Regions from separate parts of the Homo sapiens genome. Here all the other regions are linked to region 7. The links are contacts of gene promoters, found by promoter capture Hi-C in human tissues and cell types (Jung and others, 2019). All regions are on one chromosome and are shown on one strand. The core of a region is centred on a gene start or on the middle of the fragment in contact, and the rest is flanking DNA. Distances in the headings are between cores, read along the strand shown. Region 1 overlaps PSMD13 (proteasome 26S subunit, non-ATPase 13). Region 2 holds the start of B4GALNT4 (beta-1,4-N-acetyl-galactosaminyltransferase 4). Region 3 holds the start of SIRT3 (sirtuin 3). Region 4 holds the start of NLRP6 (NLR family pyrin domain containing 6). Region 5 overlaps IFITM2 (interferon induced transmembrane protein 2). Region 6 overlaps IFITM3-AS1 (IFITM3 antisense RNA 1). Region 7 holds the start of TALDO1 (transaldolase 1).

Evidence for each region. The method cuts DNA at HindIII sites, captures the fragments that hold promoters and counts their contacts. A contact is called where the count stands out against the background at its distance.
Region 1: a contact is called between a fragment that was not itself captured here and the fragment with the promoter of TALDO1 in region 7, in 2 of the 25 tissues and cell types used here (adrenal gland and spleen).
Region 2: a contact is called between the fragment with the promoter of B4GALNT4 here and the fragment with the promoter of TALDO1 in region 7, in 3 of the 25 tissues and cell types used here (lymphoblastoid cells, pancreas and spleen).
Region 3: the fragment with the promoter of SIRT3 here is called in contact with the fragment with the promoter of TALDO1 in region 7 in 2 of the 25 tissues and cell types used here (lymphoblastoid cells and spleen).
Region 4: the fragment with the promoter of NLRP6 here is called in contact with the fragment with the promoter of TALDO1 in region 7 in 1 of the 25 tissues and cell types used here (lymphoblastoid cells).
Region 5: a contact is called between a fragment that was not itself captured here and the fragment with the promoter of TALDO1 in region 7, in 1 of the 25 tissues and cell types used here (heart left ventricle).
Region 6: a fragment that was not itself captured here is called in contact with the fragment with the promoter of TALDO1 in region 7 in 1 of the 25 tissues and cell types used here (adrenal gland).

The regions. Positions count from the first base shown.
Region 1 is chr11:251,169-254,920 of GRCh38, reverse strand. It overlaps PSMD13 (proteasome 26S subunit, non-ATPase 13), which reads right to left. Exons shown (of 13, transcript NM_002817.4): 11 at 3,295-3,375; 12 at 2,985-3,101; 13 at 1,937-2,416. The coding sequence ends at 2,321. It also overlaps the pseudogene COX8BP. Among named protein-coding and RNA genes, the nearest start is that of PSMD13, 16 kb to the right of the region's middle. The HindIII fragment of the contact is 4,358 bases long and covers 1-3,752 here.
Region 2 is chr11:367,150-371,000 of GRCh38, reverse strand. B4GALNT4 (beta-1,4-N-acetyl-galactosaminyltransferase 4) reads right to left here and starts at 1,502. Exons shown (of 20, transcript NM_178537.5): 1 at 1,047-1,502. The coding sequence starts at 1,197. RefSeq lists an enhancer at 2,431-2,969. The HindIII fragment of the contact is 30,748 bases long and covers 1-3,851 here.
Region 3 is chr11:233,528-237,719 of GRCh38, reverse strand. It overlaps SIRT3 (sirtuin 3), which reads left to right and starts at 1,378. Exons shown (of 7, transcript NM_012239.6): 1 at 1,378-1,672; 2 at 4,186-4,192. The coding sequence starts at 1,392. It overlaps PSMD13 (proteasome 26S subunit, non-ATPase 13), which reads right to left and starts at 744. Exons shown (of 13, transcript NM_002817.4): 1 at 576-744. The coding sequence starts at 670. RefSeq lists enhancers at 493-732, 893-1,082 and a silencer at 1,233-1,312. The HindIII fragment of the contact is 7,029 bases long and covers 1-4,192 here.
Region 4 is chr11:275,624-279,739 of GRCh38, reverse strand. It overlaps NLRP6 (NLR family pyrin domain containing 6), which reads right to left and starts at 1,333. Exons shown (of 8, transcript NM_001276700.2): 1 at 1,142-1,333; 2 at 133-413. The coding sequence starts at 1,170. RefSeq lists an enhancer at 1-33. The HindIII fragment of the contact is 18,362 bases long and covers 1-4,116 here.
Region 5 is chr11:309,204-311,751 of GRCh38, reverse strand. It overlaps IFITM2 (interferon induced transmembrane protein 2), which reads right to left. Exons shown (of 2, transcript NM_006435.3): 2 at 2,357-2,548. Among named protein-coding and RNA genes, the nearest start is that of IFITM2, 2.7 kb to the right of the region's middle. RefSeq lists an enhancer at 1-202. The HindIII fragment of the contact is 1,366 bases long and covers 616-1,981 here.
Region 6 is chr11:332,439-336,563 of GRCh38, reverse strand. IFITM3-AS1 (IFITM3 antisense RNA 1) reads right to left here. Exons shown (of 5, transcript XR_007062540.1): 5 at 2,875-3,861. Among named protein-coding and RNA genes, the nearest start is that of IFITM3, 14 kb to the right of the region's middle. RefSeq lists enhancers at 2,128-2,681, 2,682-3,235. The HindIII fragment of the contact is 4,084 bases long and covers 135-4,125 here.
Region 7 is chr11:745,455-749,255 of GRCh38, reverse strand. It overlaps TALDO1 (transaldolase 1), which reads right to left and starts at 1,792. Exons shown (of 8, transcript NM_006755.2): 1 at 1,678-1,792. The coding sequence starts at 1,774. It overlaps LOC105376509 (a long non-coding RNA gene), which reads right to left. Exons shown (of 3, transcript XR_930962.3): 3 at 2,294-2,507. RefSeq lists silencers at 1,192-1,281, 1,382-1,671, 1,732-2,331 and enhancers at 1,511-2,159, 2,462-2,521, 2,160-2,808. The HindIII fragment of the contact is 22,782 bases long and covers 1-3,801 here.

The sequences.
Region 1 (3,752 bases), core at 694-3,193, 490 kb after region 7:
TAGAAGGCGTAGGTTGTTCATCCTGGCTTTTCGGAAGACTGCAGTTATGAACCTGGGCGCACGCAATTCCCACCCGAGCGGTAGGTGTTCATGCATTTCCCCTCTCAACACATTTCTTTACGAATACAGCTCATCTGTGCATAACTGTCATTGGTATGACTGTTTACACTTGCAGAAACATGGATATTATTATTGTCTATTTTATTGTGTGAAGTGGCCTATGATGTGTTCTGTCATATGTCATGTTTTTATGTTTCTCAAATAAATCCCCTTTAAAAATGTAAATAGATGGCCAGGCGTGGTGGCTCATGCCTGTAACCCCAGCACTTTGGGAGGCTGAGGCGGGCGGATCACCTGAGGTCAGGAGTTTGAGACCAGCCTGACCAACATGGAGAAACCCCATCTCTACTAAAAATACAAAATTAGCCAGGTGTGGTGGCAGGCGCCTGTAATCCCAGCTACTCAGAGGGCTGAGGCAGAATTGTTTGAACCCAGGAGGTAGAGGTTGCAGTGAGCGGAGATGGTGCCATTGCACTCCAGCCTGGGCAACAAGAGTGAAACTCCGTCTCAAAAATAAAAAAATGAAAAAAAAGTAAATAAATATCTTTTAAATAATTTTAAAATTATTTTTTCCAGAAATATATTTTCAGAATTTTGATTTTTCGGGATTTCAGCATGCAGAATTGTGTCTCTCTGGGCTGTGATCAGCTCATGTCTGGGATGAGGCAGGAGCCTTGGTGGGGTGCAGGGAGAGCAGATGAGGGTAGGAGCAGGACCAGCAAGGCAGGCAGTGGTCAGAGCACTCAGGCCTTGGGGGTGAGTGAAGCCTGTTGGAGGATGCTGAGCAGCGGCAGCAACAAGACCTGATTGTTCTGGAAGACTGTCTGGGCTGCTGTGTGGAGGAGCGGTTATGGAGGACAGGTTTGAGGCTGGACTTAGGGAGGGTGGGGAGTCAGCGGGCTCGATGTACACATGAGTGTCTGAGGGAAATGGAGGCTCACACTAAGACATTTGGCCTGAGCAGCTGAGAGGGGCTGCGGAAGGTTGAAGGGTGCACCACAGGGCCTTGGGAACTTGACAGTGAGGTGGGTATAAAGGCTAGTGGTCAATAGATCCCAGCAATTGTGACTGACGAGGAACAGCTGGGGTGTCAGGCCATCTGGACCAGGGCCAAACGAGGTCTGGAGAGGGTGGGTGGAAAGACCGAGAGGGGTCTGGGGCCATGAGGTCAGGCGAGGCCTGGACGAGGTGGAAAAAACCAGGAGCTCAGACACCAGCAACCAAAGAGGAAAAGGCTGGAGAAGATGCCGGACAACTGTTCTTTGCCAGCCTAGCAGACTTGTGGGTGCTTTCCTCCAACAGGAGCAGGCCGTGGGGCTCTCACATTCATCAGCTTCCTGGTTCCTGGAGGCTGGGTCTCACCCGACCTGGAGAGCTGCAAGAGCTCCATGCTGTCACTGCAGGCCCAGGACTGAAAGATCACATTAAACTGTCCTTCCACCTAATGTTCACTCTGTGATTCTTTGTGTACGTGCACCTCCACTCCCAGACGGGGAACCTCAAGGTGGTTTCCTTTACATGCCCAGTCCCAGGGATGGCTCATGTCCGCACTGGGGCACACCAGGTCACAGATGCTGGTGGCTATTTGAATGATGAGTGGTGACAAGGATGTGGATGGATGCCTGTGTCGGGGCAGGTACCTGAGAGGGCTGGAGAAGGGAGTGGATACCCCTAGGTCTCTCTTGACTAACAATAAAGATAGGACCAGCGTCTTCGTTAGTCCTTGGTGCTGGATTCTGCCCGTCTACTGTATGTGCAGGGAGGAGAAGGGCCAAGGCTACCCCCACCGTGTCTTCCCAAGGTTCCAACTCATGCTTTTTAACCTCCAGGCACAGGCTTGGCCTGGAAGCTAAGCCCAAGAAAACAGAGCCACAAGAAGAACAAAGCAGAGGGGTTTATTATAGGAACATTCTCAAACCGCAACGGAAAAGATGTCCGTACAGGTGGATGGGGATGGAGATCCACCTCGGAGTACACAGACTTCAGGGGGCCTCCTGCCTGGCACGTTCTTTCTCTCCCGTATCACCTAAGACCCTGAGACCCCCACCCTCTGCAGGAGAGACCCACAAAGAAGCCTCCTCCCTGTGGCCTGGCTCCCATCAGGGACAGTCCTGTTTTTAGAGCAAGAACAGTCTGTACTTCAGACAGGATCCCAACCCCCACCCAAATTCAATGTCGACCGTCTGAGCAGCCAGCTTCATTGGCTGCAAACGCCTCTCTCAGGTGAGTCAAAGGAGACACGACGGGGAACCAGGGGGCCCTAGGTGAGGATGTCATGGGCCTGGTGCTCCACCAGCATCTCCATGCTCTTCACATCCGTGCACCAGAACTCCAGGCGGTCCTTCATTCCCTTGATCTGAAATGGAAATCCGGACACAAGGGACGTTAAGACACGCAGGAGACACAGGCCGAGCGGCCGGCACAGCACCTGATGGGGTGACTCTACATCTCCAGCTAACTCTCTAGGGCAGCTCTAGTAAAAAGGACCTCTGAGCTGGGGGAGTGGGACGGGACTTGCCGGGTTAATTCTTTTCACAGGAACGTTAGAAAAAACTTGCATGAAAGAAAGCAGACAAGGACAGAGGAAATCCACAGGATCGCATTTCCAGCAAATGTAAGAGCGACGTGAGCTCAAATCACAGAACCAGGAACGTATCTGATCAGAGCTCCTATCTTAAGATTAAAAGGCACCGTCAGCACAACCAGTGCCATTGTCATCATAAGCTTTTAAATGCAGGGTTCAAACCCTAGGCTTGCATTAAATTAGGCTCTTAGAAAAACCCAACAGCAGTATTTCCTTCTCCAAAACCTCTTGTCTAATAATGCTGTCTTCCCAAATGGCTTCCATCCAAATGAAACTAAGACGGTATAGACACAACCCCTCAAAATCCACAGAGGTGAATAATGGGTTTCAAACACATCACCTGTTGCAAATCCAACACTCGGGGCTGCACCCAGGTCATGTGGACTCGTTTGTCCACCTCGTCTATACTGCCTTTCACCAGCCCCACCGAAAGGGCCTTCATCACCAGAAGCTCCACCTGTGCAGAGAGGGAGGCGTGTGTAAGACAAGATAGCCTGACACACCCCCATGGACCCAGATGGCTTGTGAGAAGCAGATGCCGCTCCTCCCGTCATTTTTTACTGTCTAGGGAGCACAGCGCTCACACAAGAGCCTTGACTCCTCCATGTGGCAGCTTTGCTGCTCTAACACCCTGAGCCTAGGGACCGTACCTCATTCACTGTGATTTTAGCACTTTTGGCAATTTCTTCAAAAGTGAGTTGTCTGTGATTGGCAGGTCGTGTGAAAGTCATCTGGAAAAAATTTTATTAACTATTTTAAACTATTTTTCCAAATAAAAATAGAGAACTGATAAGGATGTTTTGTCAATATTGGCTCTGAAAATAGAGATCTTATTAGTACCCCACATACTAAAAAGTTTCCTAATATTAGACATATATCTTGTTAAGAACAAGCTTTTAATGCTTAGATAAGAAGGATAACAGCAAAATGCCTTACAGGAGTTTCTGACAGTAGCCATTGTTCAATCCCCGAACAAGTACTTGAGGCCACAATTTGCCAGGGTTGACCAGGGGTGACCACGGCAAACCAGAAATCTAAGGGCCACTTCCTGACGAAGCTTAAGTTCTAGTGGGGAAAGACAGATGTGCGTGTACACAAGAAGCGACAT
Region 2 (3,851 bases), core at 253-2,752, 380 kb after region 7:
AGCTGGGGTGGGGCTTTTTAGGGATTCAGCAGTATCGGGGGTCTCTTGAGGGTGTGGAAGCTGTGAGGTATGTGGGTTGGGACAAGCCCCAGACCCTTGGCCTGTGTGGGTCCAGGCGTCCCGGTACAGGAAGAGAACACAGGGGCTTTGGCAGGTGGAGTGGCCCAGGAGTCCCCAGCCAGTATCATTGTTCTGCCCCCTCAGGACACCTGGCTCCCTGGAAAAGGCTCAGAGGCAGCCAGCTGGGGTCTCTCCTGGTCTGGGCATGGCACTAACCTCCCTCCTCCAGAGGGGGCATTCTGCCCCACCTTCTCCCCCAACCCCACCGCCAGGCTTTCATCTGCGCCTTCCTGTCTGGAATGCTCTTTCCCCCAAAGGTGTATGTCAAAGATCACCATCTCCAGGAGGCCCTACCCCGGCTGGCTCACCGTGACCCCATCTGCTTTGTTTGTGGGTTGGGGTTGGGAGAGTTTACGCCAGGCTCCCCAAGCTGGGCCCCATCCCTACGCATGGACCCCCACAACACTGGCACAGTTCACCGAAGGCGCCCCCGCCGGGAAGCGTCCCAGCTGCACCGGCCACTTCAGCAAGCCCCGGCCCGGGTCCCCAGCACACAGGGAAACTGAGGCCCTGCTAAGCGGGCAGGGGGTGGAGGCGAGGCCTGAGAAGGCCTCTTGGAAGCCTCAGCAGGGTCTAGGGGCAGAGACTTCCCCAGGAGCCCACCGTCAGCCCCTCACTACCGGATCCAAGCCAGATCCCAGAGTCAGGGACCCTCTCTGGGAGGGTCGCGCGCGTCACTGCCGACGTCATCGAGCGTCCGGGCCGAGCCGAACCGCGCCCCCTCCCCCCAAATCGCAGAGCGGAGAACAGCGGGCGGGGTCTCCGGGAGGGTCGGGCCCAGCCGAGACCTCTGTGCGGTGGGAGGCCCGGCCCGCGCCCCGGGGCCCCCGCCGCCCGCGCCGCCCGCGCCCCCCGCGCCGCCCGCGCCCCCCGCGCCCCCCGCGCCGCCCCCGCCCCCCGCGCCCCCCGCGCCCCCCGCGCCGTACCTCGCCCGTAGCCCAGGCGCTGGCGCAGCGCGCGTCCCTGGCGCACCAGGCCCAGGTGCACGTAGGTGAGCCACGCGGCGCAGCTCAGCAGCAGCAGCAGCAGCAGCAGCTTCATCTGCTTACGGATCTTCTTCACCGGGAGCCGCGGCATCGCGGCCGCCGCGCCCGCCCCAGGCCGCGCTCAGCGGCGCCGCTGCAGCCCCCGGCCCCCGCCCGCCCCGCGCCGCATCCCCGGCCCGCCCCGCCGCGCTCAGCGCCCGCGGCCCCGCATGGTCCTTTGTCCGCCGTGCGCGGCCACCGGGTGCGGCCGCGACCCCCCCAGGCCGCCCTCGGCCGCGGGCCCGGGGTGGGCGGCGGGGGCGGCTCCTCGCGGTGCCCCCCGCCCGGCCGCTCCCGGCTCCGCGCTCCTGGGGCGGCGGCGGGACCGAACAGCATCCACGGCTGCCACCGCGGATCGGGCCCCGGCCGCGCGCGCGGAACCAATCGGACCGAGCCAGGCCGCGGGGAGCCAATGGCGGCGCGCGGGGAGGGGTGCGGGGCGCGGGAAGGCGGGGCGGGGCGCGGGGTGCGGGGCGGAGGAGGCGGGGCGAGGGGAGGCGGGGCGGGGCGGGGGGTGCGGAGGGTGCGGGGCGGGGGGTGAGGGGTGCGGGACGGACAGGGATGCGGGGCGCGGGGCGCGCGTCCACCTGGGCCACGGAGCGCGGGGGCGCGGCACACAGACGCGGGGCTGGGAAGCGCTGGGGCTCGGGGACCGTGGGGGGCGGCGGGGGATGGGCACAGCCTGACTGTGGGGCGGGGCGGCCTCCCGAGAACAGTGACCCGAAGGACTGCAGGCGGACAACACGGAGGAGGGAGGGGAGGGACCCGGGGTCCTGGGGGGCGGGGAATGGGGGCGGGCGAGAGAGGCCGGGGGGCGGGGGGGCCCAAGCACCGGCTTCAGCCCAGGGGTGGGAGTCGTTGCGGGATCTCAGCCTGCAGGGCTGGGGCCGCAGGGGGCCGAGCTGTCTGGGCGGCAGGAGGGGCCTCAGCTGGTGGCCCCCGCCCCACCGAGCGCGGCCTGAGGCAGGTGACAGTGTCGTGCCTCTCACCGGGACCTTGTCCCACTTCGTGCCCTTTCTCACCTGGTCTGCACCAACCCCTGCCAGTCCCTCTGTCCCCCCAGTACTTCCCTTGTCCAGCTGCCAGCGTGACCCTACTCTTCTCCCTCTGTCTGCTCAGCTGTCTCTGGGTGTGTAGCAAACCGCCCAGCTTCAGTGCTGTCCAACAGCAGCGTTCCTGTGTTCCTGTGTCCTGTGGGTCAGGAACTCAGGGCACTCGGGGACAGCTCCTCTCTGCTCCTCGAGGTGCTGGCCTCCGGTGGGAAGACGTGAGTGGTGGGGCCGGCTCCGCGGGACAGGCTGGAGCCATCCAGAGACTTCTGCCCCAAGCCAGTGCACCCTCGGCAGGAATGGCTGGGCTCACCCCGGGTGGTTGGCCAGAGCGCCTGCAGGCTCAGCTGCCAGGGGCAGCCTCCCGGTCCAGCACACAGAGTGAAGCATCTTGGAGTCACCCCTCAGGTTTGCCACATGCCGCACGGCCACCCAAGTTCGTGGGTTGTGGGGACGTGGACCCCACCTCACAATGGAAGATTGCCCAGAAGTTGCCTTCTTAAGACCTCAACTCCTTCCCTCCTTCCCCTCCATCCTCCTCCCCTAACTTCTGAGCACAGAAGCAAGCTGGTTACATCCTGCTGTTCATACCGGCCCTTAAACAACACCCGGTCTCTCAAACCTTCCCCCACCCCATCAGCTCCTCATCTCCTGCCTCCTGCAGTCCACTTTTCATATTTCTGTTATCTGCATATTCATTAAAATATAGTGCCCCACCCCTTTTTGAGACAGGGTCTCACTGTGTCTCTGAGGCTAGAGTGCAGTGGTGCAATCTCAGCTCACAGCAGCCTTGACCTCCTGGGCTCAAGCGATCCTCCCACTTCAGGTTCTTGAGGAGCTGGGACTACAGGCATGCATCACCATGCCGGACTAATTTTTTGTATTTTTTTTTTTAACAGATTCAGGGTCTCACCATGTGTCCCGGGCTGGCGTTGAACTCCTGGGCTCAAGTGATCCTCCCGCCTTGGCCTCCCAAAGTGCTGGGATTCCAGGCGTGAGCCACTGTGCCCGGCCAGTGGTGCTCTTTTATGTGTCTCATTCTGTTTCTCCAAGTCCCATATTTTCTATGTGCATCTGTCTGGCTGTGCGTCTAATGCTTTCCCTCTTTCCACTGCATGGCACCCCATCCTAGGCACATTCATCCAGCCAGTGGACGCTACCTAGTATTCTAGTGTCCTGACGAGCCAGGGACTTAGGGGACACAGCAGTGAGCAAGACAGAAAAGGGCCCTCCTTTCATGGAGTTTACATGTTACTAGGCAGGGACAGACCAGTGAACGCATAGTCGCTTTGCTGGTGGTGAGTGACGTGAAGGAGATGAGCTGGGTGATGGAGGGAGGCCGGCTCCCGCTCCAGGGTCGCTCTCTGGGGAGGCAACGGCTGGCCTGACCCGTAAACAGGTTCTTAGAAGGCAAGTGTTGGCAATGTCGGGAGAGACGTGTTTGGGACACTTCATGGGTCCACAGTCAGAGGGTGTCCCCTGTGGATCCAAAGCATAGTAGGTACAATTGAGGGGCGAGCTGGGATCTGCCGGACGCAGATGCTCCATATGCTACCACATCCGTCTCGGCCCCTTCTGGAGAAGAACGGCCACCGCCTCACTTCGGTGTGACCCAGCCACAGAGGAGAAGGTTCTGGGAAATGGGTCTCCAGCTTAG
Region 3 (4,192 bases), core at 129-2,628, 510 kb after region 7:
TGGAAGGTAAAGACAATGGGACGGCGGAAGTGGTTGCACCCCGTGCAACCAGCTGCAGAATGAATAGGGAAAACAGCAAAGCTGTACTAGCCTCTGGTTTATCAACTCCAGACCATGAGAAAGATAACTGTAGATACAGTTACACTATGACAAGGCTAAGCACGAATCACCAACATGTTTCCCAAAGTGGGTGGTGGCCCTGAAAGTGTGTTTGCTTGTTAGATGGAATCAAGAGCTAAAATCAAAGGCTACTCCTGAACCGTTTTAGTAAGACCCGAGGTAGGAGTTCAGAAGCCTCAGTCTCAGTCCCCCGTTAAGGAAGCAGTGAATCTCAGACCGAAACATCCTGGCTACAGCTCTTGGCCCTCGTGGTCTGTCATCCCTCTTATTCCTCGACCCTGCCACTCAAGGTTCCTCAGCAAACCTTGCCGGCACAGCCGGTCGCTACACGTCCCCGTTTCCCCCCAACTTGGGTCTGGGCGCCCTCAGCCCATCAAGGGTCCGCTCCTCCGCCCGCCTGCCCCCTCCGTCTCCCTCTATCGCCGGGGCCCAGGGCCCGTCTGCTCGGCGCTCACTTCTTCGTGTAGAGCTCCTCCAGACGGTGCCACACAGCGGGCTGCCCGGGCCCGGAGTTCTGGCTCTGCTGTAGGAAGCCCGGTACGTCCTTCATGACAGCAGGAAGACCCCCGGCACAGAAGAACAACCGGGATGTCAGCACCGCGGGGATGGCTGCCGGAAATGCTCACTCACTTCCGGCGCCGAGCGGCGCGGGGCAGGCTGGGAGCGCCGTAGCAGGCCGGGGGCGGGCCCCGCTGGTTGCTCGGTTACAGCGCGTCTCTGCGCTCCGGACAAAACTCTCCGGCGTTTGCAGCCCACTTCCCGCGCACTTGGCTGTGCCATTGAGGCGTCAAAGAGTGTGGGCGCCTGTGGTCGAACCCGCTACGGACTAGCTTTGTGGTGTCAGCCTTTGTGACCCGGAATTGCTCCTGTCAAATGAGGATCTTCCCAGTAGTGTTTTGCGAGGATTAGGTGTAAATATAATGCCTGACCATAGTAAAAGCGCTCAGAAAGTATTAACTATCACCGCCATCCGGGTTGAAAAAGGTGTGAGCGCAGGGTACAGAAATGCTGGCTCCAGGTTTGACCTCCGGGGCGAGAGATGAGACACCAGACTAGGGAACTTCCTCTACTCGCCTCTACGTCTACCTGGGCGCGCCGGAGGCGTCGGCAAGGAGGCGGGGGCGGGGCGCGGAGGCGGGACCGGGGCGCCGGGGGCGGGGGCGGTAGGCGGAGGCGGGGCTGGGGCGCCGGGGGCGGGGGTGGGAGGCGGAGGCGGGGCCGGGGCGCCGGGGGCGGGGCGAGTCCGGAGGACTCCTTGGACTGCGCGGAACATGGCGTTCTGGGGTTGGCGCGCCGCGGCAGCCCTCCGGCTGTGGGGCCGGGTAGTTGAACGGGTCGAGGCCGGGGGAGGCGTGGGGCCGTTTCAGGCCTGCGGCTGTCGGCTGGTGCTTGGCGGCAGGGACGATGTGAGTGCGGGGCTGAGAGGCAGCCATGGGGCCCGCGGTGAGCCCTTGGACCCGGCGCGCCCCTTGCAGAGGCCTCCCAGACCCGAGGTGCCCAGGGCATTCCGGAGGCAGCCGAGGGCAGCAGCTCCCAGTTTCTTCTTTTCGAGGTATTTTGGGCAAGGACAAGCACTTCTTGCGTGTTCGTTGTCGACACCTCGCCCACTCTTTCTCACCTTGCCGTGTTTCCTTTGCGGCATGTCTGGGAGTTTACGTGCGTTCCAACACCGGGGCCTCCGTCTTTATGCTGATCTGTGGACGTCACTTATGGGGGTTTTGTCGTTTATTTCACCATTCCCTCATTGAAATACGTTCTAACCTTTAGTTATTGTGCATCATGCTGTGGTGAATAACCTTGTTGGCACCTCACTGTTTGCATAAATTCCTAGTACTGGGATTGCTAGGTCCAAAAGTATATGCATTTAACGCTTTAATGATCCCTCATAAATGTTGTGCGGTTAATACTCCCACTGGCATGTGATCGTACCCGTCTCCATAGTAATTGCATCTAAGAACTGAGGCTACATAGGAAAAAATCTTAAGGTCCATGGTTGTTAGGTATCAGATGCCCTATAATGGATGAATATTTAAGTAAATAATGGCACATTGACTTGCTGTCTGACACAACTGCTGAAAATGTTGGTGAAAAGTGAGTCTCGAAGTGGTAGCTCACACTTGTAATACCAGCACTTTCGGAGGCTGAGACGGGGATCGCTCGAGGCCAGGAGTTCAAGAGCAGCCTGGGCAACATAACGAGACCCCCATCTCTACCAAAAATTTAAAAATTAGCCGGGCATGGTGGCGCAAGCCTGTTGTCCCAGTTACTCCTGAGACTAAGGCAAGAGGATCCCTTGAGTCCAGGAGTTCAAGGCTGCAGTGAGCTATGATTGAGCCACTGCACTCCAGCCTGGGTGACAGAGCAAGACTCTTATCTACCTGTGGGAAAAAAAAAAGAAAAAAGTTTAATAGATCCTGAAGAGTTGGCCGGGCGCGGTAGCTCACGCCTGTAATCCCAGCACTTTGGGAGGATGAGACGGGTGGATAACGAGGTCAGGAGTTCGAGACCAGCTGGGCCAACATGGTGAAACCCCATTTCTACTGAAATTACAAAAATTAGCCGGGCGTGGTGGCGGGCGCCTGTAATCCTAGCTACTCAGGAGGCGGAGGCAGGAGAATCACTTGAACCCGGAAGGCAGAGGTTGCAGTGAGCCGAGATGGCACCATTGCACTCCAGCCCGGGCGAAAGAGCAAAAACTCCGTCTCAAAAAAAAACAAAGATCCCGAAGAGTCAGTCGTTCATCCAAGAAGCCCTGACTGAGCTCTTATTCTGTGCCAGACTCTGTTCTAGGTGCTATGGATGGAGCAGGGACCAGGACCTACAAACACGTGGAGCGCATTCTAATATCTGTGATACTCTGCAAAACTGTTAAAACAAATCCTTGCGGCCGGGCGCGGTGGCTCACGCCTGTAATTCCAGCACTTTGGAAGGCCGAGACGGGCGGATCACGAGGTCAGGAGATCGAGACCATCCTGGCTAACACAGTGAAACCCCGTCTTTACTAAAAATACAAGGAAATTAGCCAGGCGTGGTGGCGGGTGCCTGTAGTCCCAGCTACTCGGGAGGCTGAGGCAGGAGAATGGCGTGAACCTGGGAGGCGGAGCTTGCAGTGAGCCGAGATCGCGACACTGCACTCCAGCCTGGGCAACAGAGCGAGACTCCGTCTCAAAACAAAACAAAACAAAACAAAACAAAAATCCTTGCTACCACTGGCCCTAAAGCAGGAGGCATAGGGCTGCGTGTGAGGAGTAGTCCATTGCATGGGCTTCCTCCAGTTTGGCTTTGGATTTTTGAGCTCTCTGAATTTGTTGTTTGTGTCCTTTGCACAGTGTCCCTCCCAGGTTGCACCCATGCCTGCCCCTCAGGGTCCCCCACTCCCAGTGAATTTCACACCATGCAGCATGTACTTTAAGCCATACATCTTACGTATGTTCCAGACATTTGGTAAAACGCCGTTTATGTGTTTTTCAGTGACTCACAAACATTTTATTTACGTAAATGAGGAATGTACTCAGGCACCCTTCGTGATACCTTGCCCTCAGCAGGCACTCAACAGCAATAATAACTTTCATTCCTTTTGTGCTTCTCTTAACAGTTCGTGTTTAGTAGGAGCACAGTAGCTGTTTGGGGAACGACCTTAAGTGAATAGATGTCTGAAATGCTGTGTGAAGTGGGGCGCTTAATAGGTGGTGAGATGGTTTTAGAACCAGGGTTTTCCCTCTTTGCTTCTTGACTCCTTAACCAGTTTTCATTAGGAGACCCCTTTGGAGGTTTGCAGTCAGTCAGAGTTGAGTGCCTACTGAGTGTACTGAATTATGAAATGAGCACAGTTCCCATTAACCTGAATTTTTTGCTCCCAAGTAAGTCTTGATTTCTGATTTATGACTGCTTTTTGTTGTACCCCAATAGTCGTCTAAGAAAGGTGATTATTTTGAGAGGCCTGGGGAGACACACATGCTCATTCTCGAGGGTGGCGGTGGTGCAGAGGGCAGAGCCATGCTCGTTCTTGCTATCCTGAGATTGGTTGCTATCTGTTTCCTTTGCTGCTGTGTTTTTTTCTGTCAGTATTAAA
Region 4 (4,116 bases), core at 84-2,583, 470 kb after region 7:
ACCCCTGGGGCCCGCGAATTTGTGGATAAAACGCGCGGGGGCCGGGGACCGCGCCGGGGCTTCTCCGGGAAGCGGGAAGGAGGGCAGCCCAGCCTCTGCCCAGACAGGAGGGACCTCCCGCGCAGAACTCACGCTGCAGCCGCCGCTCCTGGAGCTGCGCCGCCACGTCGCGCGCGTCCGCCCTCTTGAGGGTCTTGCGGGCCACCTCCAGGGCAGGCTCCGGGCCGTAGAACTGGGCCAGCTGCTCCGCGAGGTCCACGGCGTCCGCGCGCTCCAGCCGCCCCCACGGGATGCTGCGTCCGTCCGGGCCCACGTCGCGCAGCTTGTGGCGGAAGCGCTTCAGCTGCTCTTGGCTCAGTTCCTCCAGCGCAGCCAGGAGCAGCTCGCGGGCCACCGCGAGGCGCGGCCCCGTGCTGGAGGCGGGCGGGCGCGGGTCATCGGGGAGCGGCCCTCGGGTGACCCCCGCCCGCCCCCGACTCTGGCGCCGGAGAACCCACCGCGGGCAGGGCCTCAGGGAGTCCCGGGCCAAGCATCGTCTGGATCCATGGGGTGGCGGGAGGGGGCAACGGGGAGTGACCCCAGACTTTTCCCTCCCCCGTCCCCGGACCCGGGTCGGGGCGTCTTGGTGTTCTTCGCCCTCTGAGGGTGAAGTGGGCACTGGCCGCCGCTGATCTGAGCTCTGGGGGGCACCTTCCTCCCCTGCACCTCCCTTTCTGCTTCTGTCCTTCCACACCCCAGGACAGGTCACATGCCCCGAGGGAGGTATTTCCAAGGAACCCTGAGCTCTCTTTCCTCGCTTTCCTTCTTTTCCCTCTCTTCCCGATCCCGGAGCAGAACTGGCCTCTTTGGCAGCAGACACTGCCAGGCCCAGGCTGTATTCCTGGGCCCCCACCCCTGCCACACTTTGGTGGGGCCCAGCTTGGGGCCTTGCACCAGGGCCTGAATCTGAGCCCCTGGTGGGGAACAGACTCCACAAATGCCCTCTGTGGGGAGGCAGTGCTTGGCTCCTGAGCCTGGGAGTGAGGGTGGGGGAAGGATGTGGACAAGGGTGGAGAGCCTGAGGAAGTCAGCGGGTGAGGTGGAGGCCCCAGAGGGCTGAGACCAGCCGGTTCCCAGTGACCACCCTGGGGCCAGCACTCACCTGGAGCAGGGGGCCTCTGGCTGGTCCATGGGGTCTCTTCCTCCCTGGGTCTAGCACTCCGGGGCAGAGGTGGGGATCAGAGAGGTGATTCCTTCACAGGCTGAGCTGGAGCCAAGTCTTAGAGGTTGTCCAGCCCGGTCCATTCCCCGGGTCCACACACCGCAGCTCAGCTGGCACGAGATGCTGTTGGGCACCGTGGCACACGCAGAGCATTGCCCTTTAAGGGCTCCGTTTGGTGACCTTTGATTTTCTTACTCCTTTATCCCATTAATGTTCCCCAAGAACCCCTGGGTGTGGCATCGGGGCATGGCTGTGAGCAGGCAGCTTCAGAGCAAGGTGGGTTGTGTGAAGGAGGTGGCTGGCTCAGAGCCAGGCCTTCAGCTGAGGCCTGGGGAGAGGTTAGACTCTGAAGGCAGGGGTGAGGAAAGACTTCCAGGTAGAGGGAACAGGGGGGACAGCCAGCAGCACGCACCATATATGGGAGGGAAGGCAGTCTCCAGGGAGACGCCGGGCAGGGGTCTGCACTGCAGCCTCCCCACCCGACCTGAACAGCTGGCGGGCAGAGGCTGGACGTCAGGGGTGTTCGAGACCCCTGGGACCAAATGTGAGAGTGTGTGGAACGGGGGGGTTAATATGTGGAAATGAGAGGTGCTGGGTAAAATAAGGCTGAGACCTACTGGGCTGCATTCCCAGGAGGGTAGACATTCTAAGTCACAGGATGAGACAGGAGGTTGACACAAGATACAGGTCATAAAGGCCTTGCTGATAATGGTGTAAAGAAGCTGGCCCAAAACCACCAGAACCAAGATGGCAATGAGAGTGACCTCTGGTCATCCTCACAGCTCATTACTCTAGTTACAGTACATTAGCACACTAAAAGACACTCCCACCAACACGATGACAGTTTATAAATGCCATGGCAAAGTCAGGAAGTTACCCTATATGGTCTAAAAGGGGAGGAACCCTCAGTTCTGAGAATTGCCCACCACTTTCCTGGAAAACTCATGAATAATCCACTCCTCGTTTAGCATATAATCAAGAAATAACCATAAAAATGGGCAACCAGCAGCCTTTGGGGCTGCTCTGCCTATAGAATAGCCATTCTTTTATTCCTTTACTTTCTCAATAAACTTGCTCTCACTTTACTCTTTTTTTTTTTTTTTTTTTTTTCATGGAGTCTCGTTCTGTCGCCAGGCGGAGTGCAGTGGCACGATCTCGGCTCACTTCAAACTCCGCCTCCTGGGTTCAAGCAATTCTCCTGCCTCAGCCTCCTGAGTAGCTGGAATTACAGGCATGCACCACCATGCCTGGCTAATTTTTGTATTTTTAGTAGAGACGGGGTTTCACCATGTTGGTCAGGCTGGCCTTGAACTCTTGACCTTGTGATCTGCCTGCCTTGGACCTCCCAAAGTGCTGGGATTACTGGTGTGAGCGACCATGCCTGGCACTTTACTCTTTATGGATTTGACTCAAATTCTTTCTTGCATGAGATCCAAGAACCATGATGTCTGGATCAAGACCTCTTTCTGATAACAGTTTGGCTGTGTGTCCCCACCCAAATCTCATGTTGAATTGTAATTCCCAATGTTGGGGGAGAGACCTGGTGGCAGGTGATTGGATCATGAAGGTGGATTTCGTCCTTGCTGTTCTTGTAATAGTGAGTAAGTTCTCATGAGATCTGGTTGTTTGAAAGTGTGTAGCATGTCCCACTTTGCTCTCTCTGTCCTTTTGGCCACATGAATATTTGCCTGCTTCCCCTTTGCTTTCTGCCATGATTGTAAGTTTCCTGAGGCCTCCCCAGAAGCAAAAGTCTGTACAGCCCACAGAACCAGGAGCTAGTTAAACCTCTTTTCTTTATAAATTACCCTGTCTCAGGTATGTCTTTACAGCAATGTGAGAATAGACTAAGACAAATTATAACAAGTAAAGAGATTGAATTACTAATTACAGGGAAAAAAAACTTTCCCACAAAGAAAAGCTCTCAAGGGAATGCTTCCCAACTCATTCTCTGAGGCCTGTGACACTGATACCAAAACCAGGCAAACTCATCAGAAGAAAACTGTAAACCAATATCCTTCATGAATACAGGCATGAAAAATCCTTAACAAACTACTTCAGAAACAGAATCTATTAGCATATAAAAACAATTACAAACCATGACTAAGTGTGTTTTCTCTAAGGAGTGCAAGGTTGGTTTAACATCCAAAAATCAATTAATGTAACATATCATAGTAATACTTAAGAGGACAAAAACTGCTTGATCATCTCAATAGAGACAGAAAGAATAGTCTACATTTTCCAACACCTCTTCATGGTTAAAAACACTAAGCAAACTGGGAAGAATGGAAGGAGCTTCCCAATCAGAAAATCCCCCAATATTTGGAATAAACAATACACTTGCAAATAACACATGGGTCAAAAAACAAGTCAGAGGAATTAAAAATACGTTTAACCAAACTGGGCATAGTCCTAGCTACAGGACAGGCTTAAGTGGGAGGATTGCTAGAGTTCAAGACCATCTTTGGCAGGGTAATAAGACTTCTGTCTTTTAAAAGATAAAAAAGGCCAGGAAAGAGAGTAGGGGAACGGAGATGAAGGAGAAAATAATATATGTGTAAATATATTTATTAGCACTGAGCTATACACTTAAAATGGTAAAGATGACAAATAAAATTTTGTATTTTTATATAAATTAATATTTTTATTAAAAAATAGAGACTGAGTCTTGCTATATTGCCCAGGCTGTTCTCAAACTTTTGGCCTCCAGCCACTGCCCTCACACCTGTAATCCAAGCACTTTAGGAGGCCGAGGCAGGAGGATTGCTTGAGCTCAGGAGTTCAAGCTACAGTGAGCTATGATAATGCCACTGCACTCCAACCCAGGCAACAGAGCCAGATCCTGACTCAAAACAAAAACAAAAACAAGACATTGAATCTACAATTAATGACCTTCCAAACCAAAAAGCATTAGACCC
Region 5 (2,548 bases), core at 49-2,548, 440 kb after region 7:
TCATCTCCAACCGGACCGGTCAGCGCTCCTGACTCACTGGCCGCCTACCCACCATATCATCCTTCGAAACTCGGATCCCCACGTTTTTGGGGAGAAGGATTTGAGTAATAATAAAACTCCCGTCTCCCCCGCAGCCGGCTCTGCGTGAATTACACTTTCCTTATTGCGATTCCCCTGCCCCGATGCGACCAAGGGGCCCGCCCAGGAGCGCAGAGAATCCATTAAGGGGTCACAGGACCGGGCTCCCAGGGTGACTCCCTGGCCACCAAGTCCTCCAGCAGGTCACTCCTGGATTCCGGCTGGACCCCCTGCCCAGGGAGGGGCCCAGGAGACGCGGAAATCGGGTCCCCCGCGGGTGAAGGGGAGGTGGGAGCCCCAGAGGAGGGCGGGAAGGCTCGGCCGGGGACGTGCCCGAGGGGGAGGAGAGGGGCTCCCGTCCGGGTCCGGCGCTGCGGGTCTCAGGGTCCGCGTCCCGCCCACCCCGCGGGGGTCTGGGCTGCGGGCGGAGCCTCCTCCGGGACCTGCACCTGCGCCGGCCGCCGCCAGGGGCGCCGCTGAGCACCCGCCTCCGCCGCTTCCCCCTCCCCGCCGGGCGGGGCCGCGCGCCTCCCACCCGGGACCCACTTCGGAGTTCGCCCCCTTCGGGACTCGCCTCCGGGAGACCCCCGAGGGGGAGAGGGCGCTTCCTCCGCGTCCATCGCCCTTGCCGCCCCTGGGGTGAGAGCGCGGCTCCGGGGCTGGGGGCGGGAAAGGGTGGGGAGGGCGAGTAGATCCAGACCTGGAGTCGCGGGTGGACGGCGGGGCGGGGGCGCGCATGGCCACCCCAGCTCCCACCGCGGCCGCCCATGGGGCACCCCACATGCGCACACCGGAGACCGAACCGGGGAAGGGCGCTGTAACCAGGTCGGGGCGGGGGTGTCTGTCCGGGGGCTCAGACCCGGGTAGAGGTAACTTAGATGAGGGTCGCTCCACTCTCCTGCGCCGCCCCCACCACGGGGGAGCAGGGCCCATACCCGCTGGACGGGAGGGGGCAGCTGCCACGAAGCAGCACCTGGTCACCCAGGAGGGGCTGCGAGGCCCGGGGCTCCTTCAGCTGCTGCCCTGGGCACAAAGCCCCCTCCCTCCCACGGGCCCTGAGCTGCCCACATCTGCAGGACTGGCTGCTCCAGACAGCTCGGAGGCAGGCAGCGCGGTGCCCCCTCCACCCCCGAGGAACTAAAGCCAGGTCCCCAGCACCACAGAGCAGGGCCTGGGAGCAGCTGGGGAGCCGGTGCCACCTTGCCCCTCCCTGGCCCTGCTGGGGGCTTAACCCTTCCCTCTGTCCTGAGCCGACAGCCTGGATTGCCGACAGGCCGCGAGCGTGGCCTTGGGCCCAGGGTGTCCCGGACTCAGCACTGACGTTCCCGGAAAGAGCCCACGTTGAGTAGGAGCTGAGACCTGCAGGACACAGGAACTCCTCCCAGGGTCCTGGATCCAGCTGCTGCTCACGGCAGGAGGCCCGAAACCAGAAGGCCTGAGCACTTGCCCCGTCCCCAAGAGATGCACAGAGGCTGGAAGGGGCAGTGCAGGGGCTGACCAACCTGCTCATGAAAGGAGGGTCCAGCTGGGCTTCCTGGGTCGAGTAGGGGTTCAGAAAGCTGTGAAACACTCATTTCCTGCATCAGGACTTACTTCGGTCCTGGATGAAGAGTACTGAAGATACATGCCTAAAATATTCCTAACACCAGGATTTGTGCATGTGTTTCCTTCCCCAAGAAAGCTATAAACAGCAAAAATTCTGCTGTAAGCTTCCCTGTGTCCTCTCTCCCTCTCTTCCTTCCCCCTCCCCTAAAACTAAAAGGAATGTTAAAAGACCCTTTTTCTGTGACCAGCGGACCTTATCTATGCTCCCAATTCCAATTCCTTGTGAACATACTTTGTAAAGTCCTGTAAAATCCTGTCTCTTTTGCCATGCTGCTGCAAGGTCATAAAGTAGATAAAATTAGATAAAACCTAAGTTGCAATTCTGTTTTTCCTCAAAATCTAAGACATGTCACAAAATAATTTACTGCCTTTGTTTCTCTCTCTGGTAACATCTTCCCACCACATGTATTTCCCGCCTTAAAGAGATTAAAAGGCAATCACCCAAAACCAACAGTGGCTACCCTCTCCGGACCCCTTCCATGCTGTGTAAGCTTTGTACTGTCACTCTGCTCAATAAAACCTACAGTTTTTTTCTTCTCTTGGTCTGTGTCTCCATCACTCGCCGCGGGCAGCCGCCACACCCAATTCTTTGGTGTGGCTAAGGCAAGAACGTTTGGCATTACATTTAATCTCAGAACCAGCAGGACCGCTCCCCAGGTGAAGTCACAGCAGCACCAGAAACATATACACTTTATTGAATGCCATTGTAGAAAAGCGTGTGAGGATAAAGGGCTGATGCAGGACTCGGCTGTGGGGACAGGGCGAGGAATGGAAGGTGGAGTAAGTGGAATACAGGTCAAGGGCAGAGCTCCTGGCCTCTGGGGGCAGGGCGAGGAATGGAAGATAGAGTACGTGGGATACAGGT
Region 6 (4,125 bases), core at 927-3,426, 410 kb after region 7:
GAGAAAAGTCAACAGCAGTTTATTGATGCCTGCTGTACCTGTCTCACGGGAGAGGCCTCAGGTTAAAAGTATTTCTCTCTCTCTGCAATGGCTTAGGAGCCTTACTTAAATAGTATTTTAACATGAGCCATAAATCCTATGGGAACAAGACAAAGGCAGGAAAATGTGGGGAGGAACCTTTACGGGAAGAGCAACATCTCCTCCTGGAATCTCTCTGTCTCTGAGCTGATATACAAGTGTCTTCAGGTGCGAAAGGCAGAGAGGAGGCCAGGAAGCCCTTAGTCTTTGTAACTTGCTGTCCTGCCATCAGGCAAGCAGAGAGAGGGACAGAGCATCGCCCTGTGTTTTAACTTTCGTCCTCTCAACAACCCGCAGTATTTTAGGGTGTTTTGGTTTGTTTCATCACGTGCAACAAGTCTTGGCACTGTGGGAGCAGAAAGGCTGTGAGACCTTTCTTCACCCGTCACAGGGTCACAGCGACACTCTTCAACAACACACAGCTAACAAGAGGAAAGCAGAGCACATTTATTGCGTCCAAGTTGTGTGTGACACAGAAGACCCAGAGACCCAGGGAAGCTCTTTATGCTCAGATTAGATGAAGAATGTGCAGCTGTGCAGAAACGGGAACAAGCCAGCGGGAAGGCTGAGGGGGGAGCCTTCTCAGCCTCCCCTGCAAAGCCCCTTCCTCCCTCCCACGCATGGGGGCAGGACCTCTTGGAAGGAAGGCCTCCAAGGGAAAGGGACAGAGTGACCTTCCAGGTTTTCGGCCTGCTTTGGGGGAGAGGAGTTCTATTTTCTGTGGGGAAAAGGAATTCTGGTTTCTGTGATTCACACTGGGGAGAAAATGGGGCAGGAAATAGGAGGGAAGGAGAAGGTCAGAGAGGCTTTTGCTTCTGAGGGGCCCTTAGTGCCTCCATAGCCAAGTACTCAACATGCCAAAGGGCCGTATTTGAAGATCACATTTGGAGCCCTAACAACAAAAAGGAGGGACTCAACAAGTTTTGTGGTGCCAGGCATGGCGGGAGGAGAGCCTGAGGCCAGGAGTTTGAGACCAGCCTAGGCAACAGCAAAACTCCATCTTAAGAAAAAAATGTGTATATGTGTGTGTGTGTGTATTTGTTGAATGAATGAATAAATATAAATTTTTAGAAAAGTTATGCCGAGCGCGGTGTCTCACGCCTGTAATCCCAGCACTTTGGGAGGCCGAGGCGGGCGGATCACGAGGTCAGGAGATCGAGACCATCCTGGCTGACACGGTGAAACCCTGACTACTGAAAATACCGAAAATTAGCCGGGCGTGGTGGCGGGCGCCTGTAGTCCCAGCTACTCAGGAGGCTGAGGCAGGAGAATGGCGTGAACCCGGGAGGCGGAGGTTGCAGTGAGCCAAAATCGCGCCACTGCACTCCCGCCTGGGCCACAGAGCGAGACTCCATCTCAAAAAAAAAAAGAAAAGTTATAAAAGAAAAAATCTCTCATGATAATCACCAAAAGAAAAAAACCCCAAAAGTAGGGCAAATAGAAAATATAAAAACTATGGCAGAAATGTCCTTGTAGAAGAATTATTATAATAAATATGAATTAAAAGACAGATTTAATAAGAGATACATTTTAAGAAAAGACCCAGAAATATGGAAAAGTTCTCTGAAACTGAACTTGGGTGATTCCCGGTGCCTGACGGAATCAGCAGGCAATCCTCCCCTGATGGAGATAACACCCCAGGCCTGGAAGTCGCTCCGTGTCCAACAATGAAGCATAAACAGGCACCGTGGAGAGAGAAGACAGTGAGGGCGAGGGACAAGCGGAGCCACAGGCAGCAAAAACTCCGGGTGCTGGAATTCCCAGACAATAAAGCAGCGGTGCGCGCTATGCTTTTGGAAACAAAAGGTAAACTTGAAGATTTTTTCAAGGAATGGGAAATGGATACGGTGATACAGTAAGAAAAACCGGCTTGGCCTTCGTTCCCGGTTCTGCAGAGCCCCTAACATCCTTGTGATTCCGAGGCGATGAGGAGTAAAGATAGAGCTCCTCTCAACCACACCTGCGTTTACGCTGTGAGAGGCCTTTGGAAAGGGGCTCTGGTTGCCAGGCGATTTGAGGGCTGGAACTGCCGGCCCCACCCTCAGCCTGTGGGGAGGGGAGAGGGACTGGATTGAGTCAGTCCTTAGGGGAATGATTTAAGCAATCGTCCCTACATAATGAGGCCTCCATAGAAAACCCTAATCAGCAGACGTCCAAGAACTTAGATGTTGGAAGCTCTAACTCATCGTGTTTGGGTTTAGCCAACACTCGATTAGGTTTGGTTTAACCCACACGTGGGTGTTGAAATCCTGACAAAAAGCAAGAATGTGTTCACCACAGAAGTCCGGAGTGGTGGTCTTTGGGATGGGAGGGGTGGTTGTCAGGCCTCTGAGCCCAAGCTAAGCCACCGTATCCCCTGTGACCTGCACGTATATACGCCCAGATGGCCTGAAGCAAGTGAAGAATCACAAAAGAAGTGAAAATGGCCTGTTCCTGCCTTAACTGATGACATTATCTTGTGAAATTCCTTCTCTTGGCTCATGCTGGCTGGAAAAGCTCCCCCACTGAGCACCTTGTGACCCCCACCCCTGCCCGCCAGAGAACAACCCCCTTTGACTGTAATTTTCCTTTACCCACCCAAATCCTATAAAACGGCCCCACCCCTATCTCCCTTCGCTGGCTCTGTTTTTGGACTCAGCCCGCCTGCGCCCAGGTGATTAAAAAGCTTTATTGCTGACACAAAGCCTGTTTGGTGGTCTCTTCACATGGACGGACGCGAGTGAAAGTCGTGACTGGGCAGGGACAGGCAGGCATCTTCTCGGGGATGGGTAATGCACCATTTTTTGACTAGGGTGATAGTTTTTTACTTTCGTATTTTATACATTTTGCTGTAAATTTATTAAATTTCACAATAGGGAAACGTTAAAAATATATGCACCCATCAACACAGACTTTAAATACACCAGGCAACCACAAATAGAAATGCTGGGAGAAGTGGGTTCAGCAGTCATCATATTTCTGAAGTCACCAAAATTCTGCCAGGAAAAGGTCTGGAGCACCTGTGAGGCCAAGGCTAAGATCTCCAGTGAGGGTGAGACTAAGCTGAGGACCTGCAGATGACTGCTGCAATGGCCATCTGCATCAGCCAGGACAGGCTGTGTTAGGCTGCGTAACAAATGGCCCCACGTAATTACGTCCTGTGCACGCTCCACTCCCACTAAGGAGGACTCTGCTCCCCACCCTCATGCAGAGGCCCAGGCGAGGTCACACCTCGACATGCGTCTCCGTGGTCACTGAGGCGAAAGGAAGGAACTCCACAGGAAGACACAACCCTGCCATCTGCCCAGAGGACAGCTGAAGGTGTCTGATGAACAGCACTAATGCGCACCACATCCAGACACCTGCGAGGTACTCAGAAGACTGCCCTTCCTGCAGGCAAAATACACCTGCTTCCTCAAGGGCAACCCGGTGTCCTCCAGCTACATGAAGGTCAAAAGTACACAAGTTGCCGCATCCAGCCTAGCTGTGTCTCCTCCCAAGCTGGAGGGCCCTGAATTAAAAAGATGAAGAGTTTTCTGCCCACGCCCCCAGTATTCAACCAAGGAGCAGGGACAGGGGCTTCGACGGTTTGGAAGGGAAGAAGGCAGATCCCAGCAGTCATGCTCTGCAGCAACTCCAAAGTCCCAGGGGTGGCTGGGTGAGGACGCTGACGCCGGGGAGCAACTTCCGGGAAGAGATGAGGGCTGTGCTTGGTGGAGGGGACACTTCCCATCCCCACGGTCCTCCGTGGCCGCACAGGGTGGGTGCTGGAGAGTTGAGTGGCTTCCTCAGCTCCTTTCTTGCCTATAGAGACATGGGGGGCCCAAGGGCTACTTTGAGTCTCAAGTTGTCATGATCTCTTTGGATCCAGCCTGTGTTTTTAGGACAGTGCAACTCTTTCAAATCTTTGATCAACTTTTTTTTCTTTTTCTTTTTCTTTTTTTGAGGCAGGTGTCATGCGAGTCCATGTGAAGAGACCATCAAACAGGCTTTGTGTGAGCAATAAAGCTTTTTTTTGTTTTGGAGACGGAGTCTGGCTCAGTCACCCAGGCTGGAGTGCAGTGGCAC
Region 7 (3,801 bases), core at 543-3,042:
AATTTTTGTATTTTTAGTAGAGACGGGGTTTCACCATGTTGGTCAGGCTGGTCTCGAACTCCTGACCTCGTGATCCACCTGCCTCAACCTCCCAAAGTGCTGGGATTACAGGCGTGAGCCACCTCGCTGGGCCAGAAGTTTTCTTAAAAAACAATACAAAACAAAACCAGAAACCCAGGACTCCCCAGCCCTCCTGTGGGTGTGGGTTTAGGAAAATCCATCTTTATTGGCCCTGCACTGCCAAGTGTAATGGACCTGACACTCCGCACCAGCTCTGCCCTAACTGGTGAGGGCCAGTAAGGAACAATACAGATGAGCGCTCTGTCCACCAGGCAAACTGCAAATTATTCTCAGTGCTAAGAAGGGAAAAAACTGAGCAGCAGAAAAATGTGTAGCCCCTTTTCTGGAGCTTTCTTTCTTATGAAGAGAGGTCTGGACTACAACGGGGGGGCTGTGTGTGTGAGGGATTCACAGCTCTAGCTTTGGATCTCCCAAAGAGGGGTCCGGAGCAGACTGTGGCACCCCAAGCCAGTCACTGAATCCCCATATTTTATGGTTAAGCAGCCAAACATGCCAATTCACTCTCTAGGCTCTGCTAGATAAACAATGCCCTTACTCAGTTACCAAAGAGGAATTAAAGCCTGTTTCTCAAGTCACCATGAGAAAGCAGAAAAGAGAGGAAGTCACTTCCGTATTAGGTGCTCGCAGCATTCATCCATGAAGCGTTTCATGATTTTCTTAAAAAATATTACTTGTTCTCAACAAAACATAGACACAAGGCTCGTCTACTCTGCACTGCAGAGGACAGAAGAGCTAAGTATTAATAAATAATCCTTCTTTGTATTTTCCAAGTTCTCTCCAATGTAAACAACTCAAGCCCAGGAAAATCCAGTATTTAACAGTGTACCAACCCTGTGCTTTCATGGGCACCGGCTTTTACCCACCCGGTGCGTCTGGCGGTGGCTGTCCAGCAGGCCGGGCACCTGCCGCCCACGGAGTTGTCCCACTGGGCACCGCAGGGCTCAAGGGCGATGGCAGCACTGGCAGCTTCTGGTCAGAGCTAGCTGATGTCCCCGCTCTGCAGACATCAGCCCAACAAAATTGCATCTCGCTGACCACAAACTGGCCACGTGGAAGTCAGCTCGAAGCTCTACCCTGAATCTCTCCTGAACTCAAAGGCTCTGAAAGCTGCCTCGACCCATGAAGGTGCACAGAGGGGCTCCCGCGGGCTGCCCACAGCCCGTCCCGGGTGCGGGGTCTGAGGGCGCAGCCGACCCCACCCTGGGCGGAGGGCGAGGCTGGGGCTCCGGCTTCGTGCCCCACGGCTCGCAAGGACCCGTCAGTACCGCCCGCACCGCTGACCCCAGCACCGAGCCCCTCACGGCTGACCCCAGCTCCTCACGGCTGCCCCCGGCCCTGCTCCCTCACGGCCGACCCGGGCCCCGTTCCCCTCACGGTCGCCGCTGGCCCTGCGCCTCTCACGGCCGACCCGGGCCCCGCTCCCCTCACGGCTGTCCCTGGCCCCAACATCCGGCACCTGCGCTCATTCCTCCCGGAACGAGCCGCCCGGGGCACCGCCACCCGGTCCGCGTCCCGGAACGGGAGACCCGGGGAAATCGGGGCGCCGGGGCCTCTGGAGGGCGCTTGCGCCGCGCCCGGGCTCCGCGCCGTCCTCACCGTGGAAGTCGCCCGTGTCGGCCACCACGGTGGTGAACTGCTTGAGCTGGTCCAGCGCGGACTCCATCCTCTGACGCTTCACGGGTGAGCTCGACATAGCAAGACCGAGGGGTCTGCGGCGGCGGCGGCGGCGACGGGACGGGCGCGCGGACGGCCCACAATGCCCCGCGGGCGGCTGCCAATCGGAAAGCGGCGCGGGAGGGCGAGGCCCGCTGGTCCCTGCGCGCCTGGACGAAGCCCCGCCCCCGGGGACGAAGCCCGAGCGCCACTGCCGGCCGCGCACCGCAGCTGCGGATCCTACAGGCTGGGTCTCCCCAGGTCCTCAGCAGCCGCCGCGGACGGGCCCGGGAAAACACCTGCACGACACGGGGCGGCTGGGCCTCGCCTCCTTCCTGCCCCGCGGGACGCACCGGGAGGGCTGGAGGAGATGGACCTGGCCCGGGTGCCGACTCTGCGGGGCTGAACCCGCCAGGGCCGAACCCGGCGATGCAGGATCCATGGTGGGGCCAGGACTGGGGTCGGGGGCCGCTGCAGGAAGCAGGGGAGGGAGCGGCGGGGGACGCCCTGCGGGTGCAGGAGGCAGAGCAGGGGGCGGCTGCAGAGCCCGGGCGCCGGACGCGGCGGGGAACCTGCTTCTGGGAATCTGTTCCCCTGAGTCCTAAGCCCAGAGGTGTCCGGGGGACCGAACGGCGAGGCAGGCGTAGGAGGCCCAGCTGCCCTGCTTCTTACCATCGCTGACTTGCAGAGTTCCTTGTATATTCTGATCAAGTCTCTGTCGCTTGTGTCTGCGTTGCAGACACTGTAACCGCCCCATGGGTTCGCCTTGCCAGCTGCCGGGACAGAGTCTATTGTCAAGACAGGGGAATTGCAATAGAGAAAGCATAATTCACACAGAGCCGATTGTTCGGGAGACCAGAGTTTTATTCCTCAAATCAGTCTCCCCAAAACTCGGGGATCCCAGTATTTAAGAATAATTTGGTGGGTAGGGGGCCAGTGAGTCAGAAGTGCTGACTGGTCAGCTAGGGATGAAATCACAGGGAGTCGAAGCTGTCCGCTTATGCTGAGTCAGTCCCTGGGTAGAGGCCACACAACTGGTTGGCAGGTCCAGGTGGGGCCATCCGGTTGTCAGAAATGCAAAAACCTGAAAAGACTTTTTTTTTTTTTTGAGACGGAATCTCGCCCTTGTTGCCCAGGCTGGAGTGCAGTGGCGCGATCTTGGCTAACTACAACCTCCGCCTCCCGGGTTCGAGCGATTTTCCTGCCTCAGCCTCCCGAGTAGCTGGAATTACAGGCGCTCACCACCACGCCCGGCTAATTTTTGTATTTTTAGTACAGACGGGGTTTCATCATGTTGGCCAGCATGGTCTCGATCTCCTGACCTCGTGATCCGCCCACCTCAGTCTCCCAAAGTGCTGGGATTCCAGGCGTGAGCCACCGCGCCCGGCGGAAAAGACTTCTTAAAAGGCAAATCCTAGGCTGACGCGGTGGCTCAGGCCTGGAATCCCAGCACATTGAAAGGCCAAAGCAGGCGATCACTTGAGGTCAGGAGTTGGAGACCAGCGTGGCCAACATGCAAAACCCCGTCTCTACTAAAAATACAAAATTAGCCAGGCGTGGTGGCACATGGCTGTAATCCCAGCTACTTGGGAGGCTGAGGCAGGAGAATGGCTTGAACCTGGGAGGTGGAGGTTGCAGTGAGCCGAGATTGTCCCTCTGTACACTAACCTGGGCTACAGAACGAGACTCCATTTAAAAAAAAAAAAAAGGCCAACCCTAGGTTCACAGTAGTGTTGATATCTTGGGGAAGTTGCAAATCTTATCTTATGACCTCCAGAATAATGGCTGATAATATTTAGACTTCCAGCCCCTCTCATTCTAACTTGGTGGCTGGTGGCCTTTCATTCATTTTACAAGAACAGTCTAGTTTTGGGGAAGGGCTATTATTTAAACTATAAATTAAATTCCTTCCCAAGACTTGTTTGGCCTATGGCCAGTAATGGACAAGGACCGTTTGAAGGTTAGAAACAAGATGGAATTGGTTAAGTCTGTTATCTTTCACTGTCATAATTTCCTTAGTTATAATTTTGCAAAGGTGGTTTCAATACTTCCTCTCAGCATGTGTTC